Regions from separate parts of the Homo sapiens genome. Here region 1 is linked to region 2. Evidence: promoter capture Hi-C in 16 types of primary human blood cells and fetal thymus (Javierre and others, 2016). All regions are on one chromosome and are shown on one strand. Each heading gives the region's core, a stretch centred on a gene start or on the middle of the fragment in contact. The rest is flanking DNA. Distances are from core to core; before and after follow the strand shown. Region 1 holds the start of C2orf81 (chromosome 2 open reading frame 81). Region 2 holds the start of DGUOK-AS1 (DGUOK antisense RNA 1).

Evidence for each region. The method cuts DNA at HindIII sites, captures the fragments that hold promoters and counts their contacts. A CHiCAGO score of 5 or more calls a contact.
Region 1: a contact is called between the fragment with the promoter of C2orf81 here and the fragment with the promoter of DGUOK-AS1 in region 2, in 3 of 17 cell types (fetal thymus, naive CD4 T cells and naive B cells). The highest score is 6.1, in fetal thymus.

The regions. Positions count from the first base shown.
Region 1 is chr2:74,418,091-74,424,746 of GRCh38, reverse strand. C2orf81 (chromosome 2 open reading frame 81) reads left to right here and starts at 3,128. Exons shown (of 3, transcript NM_001316764.3): 1 at 3,128-3,204. The coding sequence starts at 3,187. WDR54 (WD repeat domain 54) reads right to left here and starts at 3,017. Exons shown (of 10, transcript NM_032118.4): 1 at 2,931-3,017; 2 at 2,372-2,594; 3 at 1,815-1,877; 4 at 1,362-1,428; 5 at 1,216-1,269; 6 at 765-892. The coding sequence starts at 2,593. It also overlaps the pseudogene HMGA1P8. RefSeq lists an enhancer at 2,338-2,517 and a silencer at 2,918-3,197. The HindIII fragment of the contact is 12,224 bases long and covers 1-4,131 here.
Region 2 is chr2:73,978,009-73,985,268 of GRCh38, reverse strand. DGUOK-AS1 (DGUOK antisense RNA 1) reads left to right here and starts at 3,830. Exons shown (of 2, transcript NR_104030.1): 1 at 3,830-4,134. TET3 (tet methylcytosine dioxygenase 3) reads right to left here and starts at 359. Exons shown (of 12, transcript NM_001287491.2): 1 at 112-359. RefSeq lists silencers at 240-438, 197-886 and an enhancer at 1,060-1,983. The HindIII fragment of the contact is 8,489 bases long and covers 1-5,471 here.

The DNA of each region.
Region 1 (6,656 bases), core at 1,879-4,378, 440 kb before region 2:
CACTAGCTAGACCCATCAGAAACCACCCCTACCACCAGGGTTCCCTTGGGAAGCATGAACTGCTTTCCTTGAATTTCTTCATGGAGTCCCATCCCCCAATAACATTAGGAGGGGGTGCATAATTGCCTCACTGGATGGATGATAAAACTGAGGCCACAGTGTCGTGACCTTCTGGAGGTCTCGTAGTGAACCAGTCACAGTCATGACTAGACCCTGGGCCCCTGCACCCCCAACACCAGGCAGCCAACACAACCTATGGGCCTAGCCCTATGCCAGGTACAATGGAGAATATGAATAAGAAAATATACACCCTGTTCTCAAGAGGTTTGCAAATTACTTGGGGAGACAAGAGTTGTCTTTTGAGGGCAGTGCCAATTCAGGTTTCAGCTAAGAGACATCAGTGGGAGCTAGAATATGGGGAAGGCTTCCTGGAGAGGATGGATGGCACTGGAGCTGGGCCTGAATAGGTGGGACTTGCCCTAGAGAAGGAAGCTGCACATTTCAGAGCTGGAAAGTATCTTAGAAACCATTTGTTCCAACTCCTCATTTCACATCAGTATTATAAAGTCTTAATTAACTATAAAATACTACATAAATGTAAAGTATCTCTGGCTTTATCACTGAACCTGGTTGCTGAAGACTAGGAAAATGTAGATTTGCCCAAAGCCATCCACCTGTTTAGTGGCAGAGCCAAGACTCAAAGCCAGGTCCCCTGCCTCCCAGGGTGGGGAAGGCTCCCAGATGGGTAGGGGAAGTCCACTCACCTGTCCCTGGGCAGGCTCGGTGGCAATGTCTGTGATTGGCATCTGGTGCCCAGCCAGCTCCTCGCTCAGTACAATGTTGGGACCCTTTGCTGGGATGTCAAACACCAGCACCCGGCCTGACCACGTTCCTGTATCCAGAACCAGTACTCCAGTGATGACTTCCTGACCCTCCTGGGTCTCCAGCCACCATACTCAACACTTACTCCATCCCAGAAACCTTAGTAACAAAACCCCCTCTCACTGCTCCAACGGCCATGCCCCTTCATTCACTAGCCTTGTCTTATCCCACCCTGACCCTCTGAACCCTTCCATGGTTTACTGGAGTCTCTGATTCCACTCCACTTCCACCCTTCCCTCTAACTTTCCACAATTTCCTCAGGCCCTCATTATTCTCCTGGCCACAGCCCACATGCCCCAGCACCCCTCCATGCCCTGCACTTGGCTCCCTCACCCACACAGATGAAGTGGCCACTGGCAGCAATTCCCCGGGCAAACACAGCCTGTACTGAATATGAAAGGGGAGAATGATCAGAAATATCCCCTCCTGCAGCCCTAGCAAACACTCCCTGCCCCCACCCCACTTGGTCCTGCAGGTACCTGGGGAGGCATCTCCAGAGTCCAGTGCATGCCAGTAGACCATGGTGTAGCCATTGGACTCGTACATCTGGAAGACCGGGGCAAGAACCAGGGGGCATAACCCAACTGACCTCTGCTGAGTACTTCACATATCCGTGTTAGCCTTAGCCCATTTAATCCTCAAAACAAATCTGGGATGTAGGTACTATTTTTATCCTAATTTTTTCAGAGGACAACAGTGAGAGTGAGAAGTTAATAGTGTAAGGACATACAGCTAGTAAAGGGGCAGATACTGGAGGTGGCACTTGGAAACTGGAAAAGATGGAAAGATTGAAGATAAGAAATAGAAAAAGAGTGAGTGGGCCAAGCATGTGAAAAGTCTGGAAGTGTTTAGAGGCAAGTGGGAAAGTCTGGAAGCCTGGCAGGGAAGCTGAGAAGGCTCTGGTGGGGCAAGCAGGAGAGTCCTCTTCTTACCTGTATTCCTCGATGTGAGGTGAGTACCAGCAGCACTCGGAAGGGGAGGACACACCAGTGGACCTGGAGGGAGGTGCATCAGTGTAGGGAGAAAATCAAAGCAGGGAAGATGAGTTTGTTTGTTTTTTTTTTTTTTTTGGGGGACGGAGTCTTGCTCTGTGGCCCAGGCTGGAGTGCAGTGGCGCCATCTCGGCTCACTGCAACCTCAGCCTCCTGGGTTCAAGCGATTCTCCTGCCTCAGCCACCCAAGTAGCTGGGATTACAGGTGCACGCCACCACACCCGGTTAATTTTTTTTGTATTCTTAGTAGAGAAGAGGTTTCACCATGTTGGCCAGGCTGGTCTCGAACTCCTGGCCTCAAGTGCCCGTCTCAGCCTCCCAAAGTGTTGGGATTACAGGCGTGAGCCACCGCGCCCGGCAGGAGAGGGGAGATTCTGAGGTTAGGACATGCCTGGGGAGATTCTGAGGTTAGGACATGCCTGCTCCTGAAGGTTTGGAGAGAAAAGGCTGGGGGTAGGACTGGGTTCAGCAACATCACTCCCAGCTCCATGCCTCACCTGAGTGATAAGTGGGGGACTCACTCCAGCACCCTCCTTAGCGTGGAGCTGGCGCTGGGCCAAGGGCACACCCTCAGGAGCAGCGCTGAGAAGCTGGGCGCTTGGTCCATGAACCACGCCAAAATACGTGAGGTTGCGAGCCGGCAGCTGCAGCACACTGAGGTTGTTGCACAGGGCGGCGGCCGAGCCTCGCAGGGGAATGGAGCGCTCCCAGCGGAACATCCTGTGTGGGGGTGCAGCCGAATCACCAGGCGCGCTACAAACAGACGCAGCGGAGATGCCCGAGGGCGGCTATCATCGAGCATTTCGGAAGATGCCTGAGACTGGGTCATAGGATGGGGTGCCCAGAGGACGGTGATGGGGGAGGGTCTCGAGGAGCAAGACAGGGGAGTCCCAGGGCTGTTTTGGGGCGACGGGGGAATCGCAGAGGAGGAATGGGGATGACACAGGACCACCCGATGGCCCCAAGCCCGCGAGCCAAATAAGTGTGATGAAGCCCCCAAGGCTTTCTCCCTCGGCTCGGATCCCTGAAGCCCCCGGCCTAGATCAGAGGTAACACCTGCAGCCCCAGATCGGCTCGCCTGACTCCTGGTTCGTAGGGTCCCTCCAAATCCGCCGCCACCATAGAGACGACGCACGTACGCACGGCCCTTGGGCGGGGTGAGCGGCCGGAACGTGCCGCGGGCGGCGCGGTTGCCGGGGCAACTGTGGGCGGGGCGAGCGACCCCGAGCCCGTGGTTGCCCAGGCGACTGTTAGGTGGCTTACGCGGCCCGGATGCAGCAGAAACACCAGCGTTGCTGCGACCGCGTTGGCGATGGCGCACGAAGGCTCGGTGAGCTTCAGTTCAGCTGGGGATGCGCCAGAGCCAGGGTCGGCCGTTAAGGTCGGTGTCGGGAACAGTGGGCTGGCTCTGGGCCGCCCAGTGCCCCTACTTGCTCCCGCCCACCGCGCGGGAGTTTAGATGACCAAGGAAGCCACGTCGGTACTCGGGCAGAAAACCTACACCTGCACGGTGCCCACTCAAACGCTTTGTTACACTCAAGCCATGAGGGAAAGGGTCAGTGGGTGGTGTAGAGCCCGAGAACAGGAAGTGGATTTTGAAACAGCTAATGAATGTAGTAAGTCTCTTACATGGTGGTGCGTATTTAAATGGATGAGCATTTAGAGAGGGAAGATAACAGAAAAAATCTATTTCGAGAATTTCAAGAGGAAGAAATATATTAAATAATTCAGAGACTGCACTTGAAAGTCAAATTGTTTAAGAGCCAATCAATTTTAAAATAAAGAAAACGGGGCCGGTCTCAATGGCTCATGCCTGTAATCCCAGCACTTTGAGAGGCTGAGGCGGGAGGATTGCCTGAGCTCAGGAGTTCAAGACCAGCCAGGCCAACATGGCGAGACCCCGTCTCGACTAAAATACAAAAAATTAGCTGGATGTGGTGGCGCGGTGCCTGTAATCCCAGCTACTCGGGAGGCAGAGGCAGGAGAATTGCTTGAACTCGGGAGGCGGAGGTTGCAGTGAGCCGAGATCGCGCCACTGCGCTCTAGCCTGGGTGACAGAGAGAGACTGTCTCAAAAAAAAAAAAAAAAAAAAAAAAAAAAGAAGAAGAAGAAAGAAAACGGATTTGAAGAGCCTTTGTGCAAAAATATCTCTGTCCCTTCTGGTCACCATCACGGGTGTCAGATGCGAGGCTGGGAGGGGAGGTCTAAGGAAACAACTCTCTTTACTCAGTCCAGTCAGCCCTGCTCTAGTCAAGCTTGGCCTGGGCTATGGGCCACTCCTGGTGCTTGCTACAGGGCTGTTCTCACTGGTGGATAGGGTTAATGAGACTTCAGGGATTTTGAGTTCTGCAAGACTTAGGAAACAGCAGATTTGGGGGGATAATGAATTTTAGGAAACAGATATGAGACAAGGTTTTAGCGGGGCAATAGGCAAAGGTTTGGGAAGATCACATTTGGAAGTACATTTTGGAAGGAACCAGGTTCAGGGAGACTGTTGTGGGGAATTGAGGGAGCTCCCAAGAGATTGTTTGTAAACTTTTTATGTCTCTAAAGTGAGTTTTGGGGACTAGTCTTTTTTTTTTTTTAAGTGATTACAAAAGGAAACAAACTCATTGTAGAGAACTTACAAAATAGAAAAGAGCATAGGAAGGAAACGTATCCTCTGTTATCATTTTGAAGTTTTCCTTTTGTTGAACACATAGTGGTTTACATATATGAGATCATAATTGATGTGTAAGTTTGTATCCTGCTTCTTTCAATTAACGTTACATCATAAACATTTGCTTTATGCCATTGCAAATTCTTTCTAAAGATTACCTTTAATGGCTGGGTTGGTGGCTCATGCCTGCAAGGTGGGCAGATCACTTGAGGCCAGTTCAAGACCAGTCTGGCCAACATGGCGAAACCCCATCTCTACTAAAAATAGAAAAAAAATTAGCCAGGCCTGGTGGCAGGCGCCTGTAATCCCAGCTACTCCGGAGGCTGAGGCAGGAGAATTGCTTGAACCTGGGAGGCAGAGGTTGCAGTGAGCCGAGATCTTGCCACTGCACTCCAGCCTGGGTGACAGAGCGAGATTCCGTCTCAAAAACAAAAACAAACAAACAAAAAAAGATTACCTTTAATCATTGCATAATATTTCAGTATATATAGCATGTCAATTATTTATTCTCTTTTTAAAGACATGTTTTCAATATTCTGCTATTATAAAAATACCGCAGAGAATTTGTTGGAGAATATATTTTTATCTTCATTTCAGAAAATGCCTTTTGGTTGTATTTATAGAACTGAAATTGCAGGGTTGAGGAAGTGAAAACATTTTTTAATGTCTTCATGCATACTGTTGCAGCATGGTATCACACTAAACCTTTGCCAATGCTGAGTATTCTTGTTTTTAAAATAATTCCAATTTGATGAACTAGAAATCAGAATGTCAATACTATATTTATTAGTCATCTACAGTCCCTCTCTTGTGAAATGTCATGTCCTTTGCTTATCTTTGGGATCTTAAATGGTTTTTCTTCTTATAGTTTAAATTTTTATTGCAATATAGCCCAAGCTGGACTTGAACTCCTGGGCTCAAGCAATCCCCCTGCCTCAGCCTCCCGAGCAGCTGGTACTGTGGGTGTGCGCCACTGTGCCTGGCCATTTTTCTTCTTCTATTTTTTATTTTATTAGTTTTTTTTTTCTTTTTTGAGACAGAGTCTCGCTCTGTCACCCAGGCTGGAGTTCAGTAGCATGATCTCAGCTCACTGCAAACTCTGCCTCCCGGGTTCAAGTGATTCTCGTGCCTCAGCCTCCCTAGTAGCTGGAATTACAGGCGCCCACCACCATGCCTGGCTAATTTTTGTATTATTAGTAGAGACGGGGTTTCACCATGTTGGCTAGGCTGGTCTCGAACTCCTGACCTCAAATGATCCACCCACCTCGGCCTCCCAAAGTGCTGGGATTACAGGCGTGAGCCACTGCGCCCGGCCATTTTTTTTTTTATATGAGCTTTTAATTTACTCGGGGATATTTATCTTTTTTCATATTTGTTGCAAATGTCTTTGAGAGGCTCTGGAGTCAGACAGACTTGCATGTGAATGCATTCTGACTTCACTACATCCTACTTGTATGATACTGGGTAAATTACCATAAAATGGAGATAAGAATAGTTGGTTAAAAAAAAAAAATGTAGAGAACTTTTTAAGCTCCCCTGAGCCGGGGCTGTGCTCTTCTAAGTGGGACTCCGAGCCTGGGCTATTTCTGGCGCTGGCGCGGCTCCAGGAAGGCATCCGCATTTGCGACCAGGGGCGGCTGCGGTGGAGACTGGCCTGTCCTCAGCGCCCAGCACCGCTGCTCCCGGCAAACCGGAGCATGCACCGCAGGCCAGCGGCCGAGTTCGCCCATCCCAGCCATCACTTTTCCAACTAGTCCTTAGAGAAGGGAAGATGAGCGAGTCGAGCTCGAAGTCCAGCCAGCCCTTGGCCTCCAAGCAGAAAAAGGACGGCACTGAGAAGCGGGGCCGTGGCAGGCCGCGCAAGCAGCCTCCGGTGAGTCCCAGGACAGCGCTGGTAGGGAGTCAGAAGGAGCTCAGCGAAGTGCCAACACCTAAGAGACCTCGGGGCCGACCAAAGGGAAGCAAAAACAAGGGTGCTGCCAAGACCGGGAAAACCACCACAACTCTGGGAAGGAAACCAAGGGGAAGACCCAAAAAACTGGAGAAGGAGGAAGAGAAGGGCATCTCGCAGGAGTCCTCACTGGAGGAGCAGCTTCCTTCTGGGACTGGACAGCTTTGATCTG
Region 2 (7,260 bases), core at 2,581-5,080:
GGCCCCCCGCCGGATCCGGGCCGTCCCCTCCCCCTCCCCCGGGCCGGGCCCCCCGCGCCTCCCGCCGCCCCTCCCCCACTCCGGAGCCGGAAAGGCACCGACTGCACCGACCTGCCCGCCGCCTCCGGGGCGGAGCGCACAAAGGGGCAAAGTTTCCCGGCCCGCGCCGCCGCCGCCACCACCGTCGCGGCCGCCGCCGCCGCCGCCTGGGGCTCCCGCCTCCCGGAGCGCCCGGCCCGACCGAGCTCAGCGCGCGGAGCCCCCCGCCCGGGCCGAGGAGGGGACGGCGCAGGAGGAAGGAAGAGGCAGCGGCGGCCGCGGCGGCAGCAGCAGCAGCAATGAAGGCGTCCGCGGGACTCCCCGCCCCCCGCGCACCGCGGCACGTGCTCGCCCGGGGACTCCCCCGCCCGGGAGGGCGCACACGTGCGGCCCCGCCGAGCCCCGCCGGCCCGGCCGGGCCCCGGGCCGGGCGAGAGGGGGGTGGTTCCCGCGGAGGGGAGGGGTCGGGTGGGCGGCCTGCGAGCGGCTTGGGGCAGGCTCCGGCCCGGCCGCCGCTTCTCTGCACCTGCAGTGGCTCCCACCCACGCGGTCGGCCCTCCCGGGAGGCGGCCGCCCCCTTCGGGTTGGCCACCCTCGCCCTCCGGCGGGGCTGCAGCCGGGGCCGGCGAGGCGGGGTGGGGCACGCGGACCTTCCAGCCTAGGCCCTCGGCCGAGCCTCGCTCGGTGTCCCCACTTCCTGCCACTCCCTGCGGGCCAGATCTGTCCGGGACAGCCCCGGCGCCCCCGGGAGGCCTGAGCGCCGGGCCCGACTGACCCCCCTGTCCCAGCTGCCGCTGGCTCATTCCGAGGCAGGACAATGGGGGACATCGCGCGTTTGCGTACCGAGTCAGCCTGGCCGGCAAGAAGGGGTTGCTCGGGGGCAGAGGCTAAGGGCACCCTCGCAGGGGTCACGGCCGAATGCCCTGTCCAGGTGGACCCCACGGCCCTGCCATCACCAGCCTCCCCCGCGCCGCGCTCGATTCTTTCGCGTCGAAAACAAAGACTAATCCGATACCCCCGCCCTGCCTCCCAGAGGAGGGGGAACGGGCGCGTCGCGGAGGGTAACTGAGGAGGACAGCGTTCAGGAGGGCCTCGGACAGCCTCGAGGGGGCCGTGGGGCGACTAAGCCCTAAAACCCGGCGCAGACACTTTGAAGAGTCACCCTGGGCTACGTTCCAGGCAGGGGGTAAGGGGCAGGGCTCAGGAATATTTCCAAGTTGCCAAACTGCCCGTTCTCTCTGCTGCTTTTTTCCCTCACCTGTTGTGCAGGCCAAGTTGAAATTCCAGGTTAGATTAATTCAGCCCCACCCATCTGGCCTGACTGCCAGGCTGGTGCCTGCAACTGCCTTCCACCTACCTCGGTTGCAGGGGAGCAGGGTGGGTCTCTGACATACACGCGCACACACACACTCGGGCGAGTCCTGGCAGAAACAGCCACAGGACGGACTGGCCTGACCAGTTTGGGCGGTGCTCACGGAGCCAGGTACCTGGCAGGCGTCGCCGCCCGGCTGCAGCTAACAGCTTAGCCAGAACTGGAAAAAGAGCATTCGGCCGGCTATTTAGAAAGAAAGAAAAAAAAGTAACTGATCTGAAGTAGCGCTGTCCAGAAAGCCCTAGGCGGTAAAGCAGCCCGGGTTCTATCTGGAACTTCCCTCTGATTTTGACAGCCTGCTCCAGGGTCCAGGTTGTCAGCGAGGGAGTGGGTGGGGGTGAACATGGCTGCAATATCCACTTCCTACCATGGCCTTTGGGAGGACTGAAGAGTTTCTGTTCAGGGTAGTAAGACTAGAACCGAGACGAAAAACCAAGAGAGTGCAATTTTCAAACAGGGGAACAGGTTGCAGACTCGTAATTGTTTTTAATGTAATATATTTTTAATAAGCAACTTTATTAATAAAAAATGTGTATAAAGAAGACGTGGAGACTACAGATACTAGAGGGGAAAAATCACCAAATTACAACCATATTTAACCATTTGCTATATTTCCTTGTAGCCTTTCCTATTTGTGGATTTACTCACACTGATTATACAATTTGCCATCCTCTTTTAACTTAACATTGTACCATAGGCATTTCCCTGTTTGGTATACAGTTTTCAGAAAGTGTGACAGTGAGGTGAAGAAGATGGCTCAGGAGCCAGAGAACTCTGGCTTCCAAACCTGAATCTGCCACTTGGTAACAGTGTGACCTTGGACTAGGTACTCCATCTTCAAGGGAATCCAAGTAAAAGACTTAATATAGGGCTCAATGAATGACAACAACTAATATTGTTTAATCCATATGACAACCTTGTGAGGTAGGTACTATCATCAAACCCATTTTATGGATAAGAAAACAGATTAAATAACTTGCCCAGGATCACTCAGCTAGTAAGTTGTGGACTTTCAGAGGAGCCCAGCAGCCATCCTCTTGTATTCTGTCTGGGTAAATGGCACCAGCAAGTTACTGTGTCATTTACTCTTTGCCAGCAATCTATGAGAGGGTCATTTCATAAAGCCCTCTCGTTTAGGTAACTGGGTGAATGCTGGTGCCATTCACTGTGACAAAATGCAGAAGGAAGGATGCCTGGGGATGGAGACATTCGTGTGAAAGTGAGTGTGCAACTGAGGGGGTGAGGCCTGGGTTTGAGATTTGGGCCCCATCAGTGAGCAGACAGCGAGGCCTCAGTTGTGGAGGAGCTCATCCAGGGTGGATATGGAGTGTGAGAGGGAAAGGCTGCCAGGACAGAGCCCCAGGGAATACCAGCCCATGAGGGACAGGAGCTGAGAAGGCGCCGCCAGAGAGGTTGGAGGGAACCCAGCCAGGCTAGAGAGCTGCCTGTCATATCTTCCCGGCCTCTGGAACCTTACACTTCGGCAGTCCTGTTGCTCATTCCTTCTGCCTGGGGAAAAACCCTTCCCACCCCACCCCTTCTCAGCTACCCCTTGTACCTGCCAAATTCCCACTCATCCTGCAAGTCATAAGTGCCAGTTCCATGAAACCTCCAGCTGCTCAGATGATTCCAGAGCCCCACCCACTCTCCCTCCACAGAAGTTTGACTCTCCCTGCCTAGGAACAGTTATCTCATCGGCGCTGGGCACTGGAATGGTTTGCATGTTTCTTTCCCAGTTACTACAAACTCCTGGAAGGGTAGCACGCTGTCTTTCACCTCATAACCCTAGACCTAGCAACCAACCACTGTGTTGAATGAAGAGACGAGGTGAGTAGACCCTAATGAATGACAGACCCCAGTAACACTGAAGACCCATAGGCTTCTTTCCTGCTTTCTTTACGACTTGCACAAACTGGTCAGGGGCGCCCAAGATAAAACAGCCTAAACTCCTCAGGTCCTGCCTTCTGGTTCTCCAGCCTCCTGGGCTGCTGCGGCTATTCCCATTCACATTGCGCTCAGGGCAGGAGAGCAGCGGGGGTGGGCGTAGGGATAGGGCGAGCCCTTCCTGGGGCTGCATTAGCCTAGACGCAGTGGTTCCGCCAAGAGAGCCCCGGCACCAGCAGCATCACCATCTCCTGGGAACTGGCTAGAAATGCAAGCTCTCGGCCCCATCCTAACCCCACTGAATCAGAAACCCTGGGGGCGGGCCCAGCAATCTGTTTTAATTAGTCCGTCAGGTGAAGTCAAGTTAGAGCAGCACTGGACTACAGCAAGCGGGGGAGAAGGAAGTTCAGCACCCAGGTGGAGACTGCGATTAGGCCCCCAAGGCGCTTAGAGCAGACAGAGGGAGAGAGGCTCCTTTTAGGAGCGGGTTTGGCGGGCGCCACCCCAAGCGGCCAAGGGCGGAGCCTCTTTTAGGCGACTGCTCCCGCGAGGTCAGAGCCGGGCTGTGCCGCTGCCCCCGGGACTAGAAAGGGAAATCTCCTTGCTAGAGGAGGAAGCCCTAAGAACTCAAGGGAGATAGGGGTGGCAGGGGCATTTCCCTGGATGCCTGGAGCATGGAGGGTGCGAAATAAGGAGGCTTTCCTACCCCATTGATGAGCTGAAGTTGATTCCGCACGGGGGAGGAAAGGGACAGGAAGCATAATTGGATGTGCAAGCCTGTGGTTCTTCAGGAAGTTAACACGTGGAACTAACACTGTTGGATGCTGCTGAACTCTCAGGTGATTGATGTGACTAACCTCCTCAGGTACTTGACCTCTCTCCTCTTCAGCTAATGAGTAATTTGTCCTTATTTAAGAATGAGATTTGCGTATGGGGACCTTTTGCAGAAATGTAAATACATCCCGATATCCATACCTGGGCTTGGTTTTAAAGACTGAAGGTATTGGGAGGTTTATTTGATTTTGGATGTATTACTTCTTTGGTCATGTATTGGCTAAAAATATTATCAACTAATATTTGCATAGATCTTTCCCTTTTCAAAGCACTTCCACACACATTATCCTTCTGTCTGCACAGAGTGGCAAATACAACAAATGTGCAAATGTTAACTTTCCTTATCTATGACATAGTTTTTATTATCATCACCATTTTACAGATAAGAGAACTGGCGCTCAGTGAGGTAATTTGTCCAAGGTCATTCACTACTACATGTCAGAATCCAGGACCTACAATCCAGGACCTCTGAAATTAGCCCACGAATGCTAGAGCTGATACCAGGCAGAAGCTGGCATTTTGCTCTCAGGGAAAGGGAGGTTCATTAGTGGGTTGCTTGTGGACCTGCATTGGTGAGTGTGACACGTGTAGGATATCTATGCTATGCGTTTTTGGGTTTTTTGTTTTGTTTTGGTTTTGGGTTTTGGTTTTTTTTTTTTCTTTGAGATGGAGTCTCACTCTTGTCACCCAGGCTGAAGTGCAGTGGCGCGATCTGGGCTCACTGTAACCTCTGCTGCCCAGGTTCAAATGATTCTCCTGCCTCAGACTCTCGAGTAGCTGGGATTACAGGCACCTGCCACCGCGCCCAGCTAATTTTTGTAGTTTTAGTAGAGACTGGTCTTGAACTCCTGACCTCATGATCCACCCACCTCGACCTCCCAAACTGCTGGGATTACATGAGTGAGCCACCGCGCCCGGCTACTACGTTTTTCAATAGCCCCGCAAATGTCCTCATGTTTTATAACTAGTTTTGTGACTGCATTTTGAATTTTTTGAATCAAATAGGCTTCATTACTTGCAAGGAGAATGCAAGGGTACCCATCATAATGGAAGGAATACCCAACAGGGATAAAGGCCTTGGTGCCCCTGAGCCTTGGTTGACAGGGTGTATCAGTCAGGATCAGTTAGATTGTGCTGGAGTAATAGACAATCCCCAAATCACAGTGGCTTTACATAACAAAAGTGTATTTCTCAATCACAAAACGTGTCCATTATGAGTCATTAGGAGCTCTGTTTCCCGTAATCACTCGGGCATCCAGGCTGCTGCAACTGGACATGCATCTCCTCAACCCTGAAGGCAGGAAACAAGAATGGGGCAAATCTAGCACTGGCTCTTAAAGCTTTTCCCTGGAAGTGACACACATCACTCCTGCTGTCATCTCACTGGCCAAAGAAAGTTACAAGGGGGCAGGGAAGTGCAATAAGTACAATCCTGCTATGTGCAGGAAGGATAAGCAGAAGTATTTGGTTAACAGCACTAACACACAGGGAGTGTGTGTGAGTGTGTGAATGTATATGTGTATATTTGAGGTATGTGCAATTACACATACTGCCCATTTCCAGAGCATTCCTCCCTCCTGGCGACACATATTAGAGATTCCTAGTGTAAAGGACTGTCTTACCTTGCACTAGAGCAGGTTCAGAGATTTAAACTAAAGCGAAAAAAAATAAGAGTTGAAGGAAACATAGTAGAAGAGGTGAGTGGCTGTGGGACAAACTCAGTAGAAATTCGTTTGTAAATAGAGAAAGAAATCCAGGAAAGGAAGGTACTCAGGGTGTATGACACAAGGAGCCTGCCTACTAAAGGAAACTTCTAAAACAGCGTAGCTTTAGCAGAGGCGTTTCCTGCCGCCTTGCCATTAACTCCCACTCATCCTTCCTGGTTAAACTCAGGTGACGCTTCAGGAAGCCTTTGATGATCTCTCAAGATTGGGTAAGGGGCCCACCAATCAGATCACAGGTATGCCTGGGTCTGTCCCATCCCCTCAGCTGTGGACAGGACCACATCTTACTCAGTGCCAGCTGCTATATAGAGAATACATTAGAGGAGGGTGTCAGAATAGAGGCAGAGAGAGCAGCTAGAAGGCTGTTGCAGAAACCTAAGTGAGAAAACAAAAATGATGGTCTCCATTAGGGTAGTGGTGGTGGGGAGGGAGAGAGGTATCAAGAAAGATTTACGAAGTCAAACCCACAGGACGAGGGCATAGGAAGGGAGGTTTCTGGAAGAACAACAGGGTAGTTGGTAGTGCCAGGGGGCCCAGAGAAGGTGGAAGTTGATCAATGAGGTCAGCAAGAACACATCCCATTTGAGGTCCATTTTGACAGCGCCCACAGAGAGACCCAGGAGCAGCCCCTGTCACAGCCTGAGATTCCGGGGGGGGGGAGGGGGGCGGTGGAAACCAGGTCCTATGAGCTGCCTCTTGGTTAAACTCTAACATCGAATCAAGGTTAGTATTTTCTTGTTTAAAAAAATATCAAGCCGGGCCTGGTGGCTCACGCCTGTAATCCCAGCACTTTGAGAGGCCAAGGCAGTCGAATCACTTGAGCTCAGGAGTTCAAAACCAGCTTGGGCAATATAGTGAGACCTCAACTTTACAAAAAAATTAGCCAGGTGCAGTGGTGCACACTTTGAGGTGAGAGGATCACTTGAGCCCGGGAGGTTGAGGCTTCAGTGAGCCAAAATTGTGCCATTGCACTCCAGCCTGGGCAATGGAGTGAGACCCTGTCTCAAAAAAAAAAAAAAAAAAAAAAGTATGTGTGTTGGGGGAGCGGGAAACACAGAAAATACATATAGTATAAAAGTGGTGAAATTCCTGAACTACACATCATAGGAATCCATTCAGAACAGTGCTTTATAGAAAGAGCAGAGCATCCCTGAAAGATTGGTTCAACTTCAATTGGCTTGTCCCCTGATCTTGTTTCCATGTGTTGTTTCTGTCCCATCTCCTGCTAAGTAGGAGCCTGCTTGTCCCATTTGAGACTTGAAGATGATATCAACCCCTTTCACCTTCGAGGCTTCCCTTCCTCATGGCCTTTTGTGGGTGAGGATTGAGTCCCATTTGTAGGTACTTGACAGTGCTGGGGCACCCATCCTCAGAGACCCTGTTCTTCCCACTTGGATGTAGTGCTCC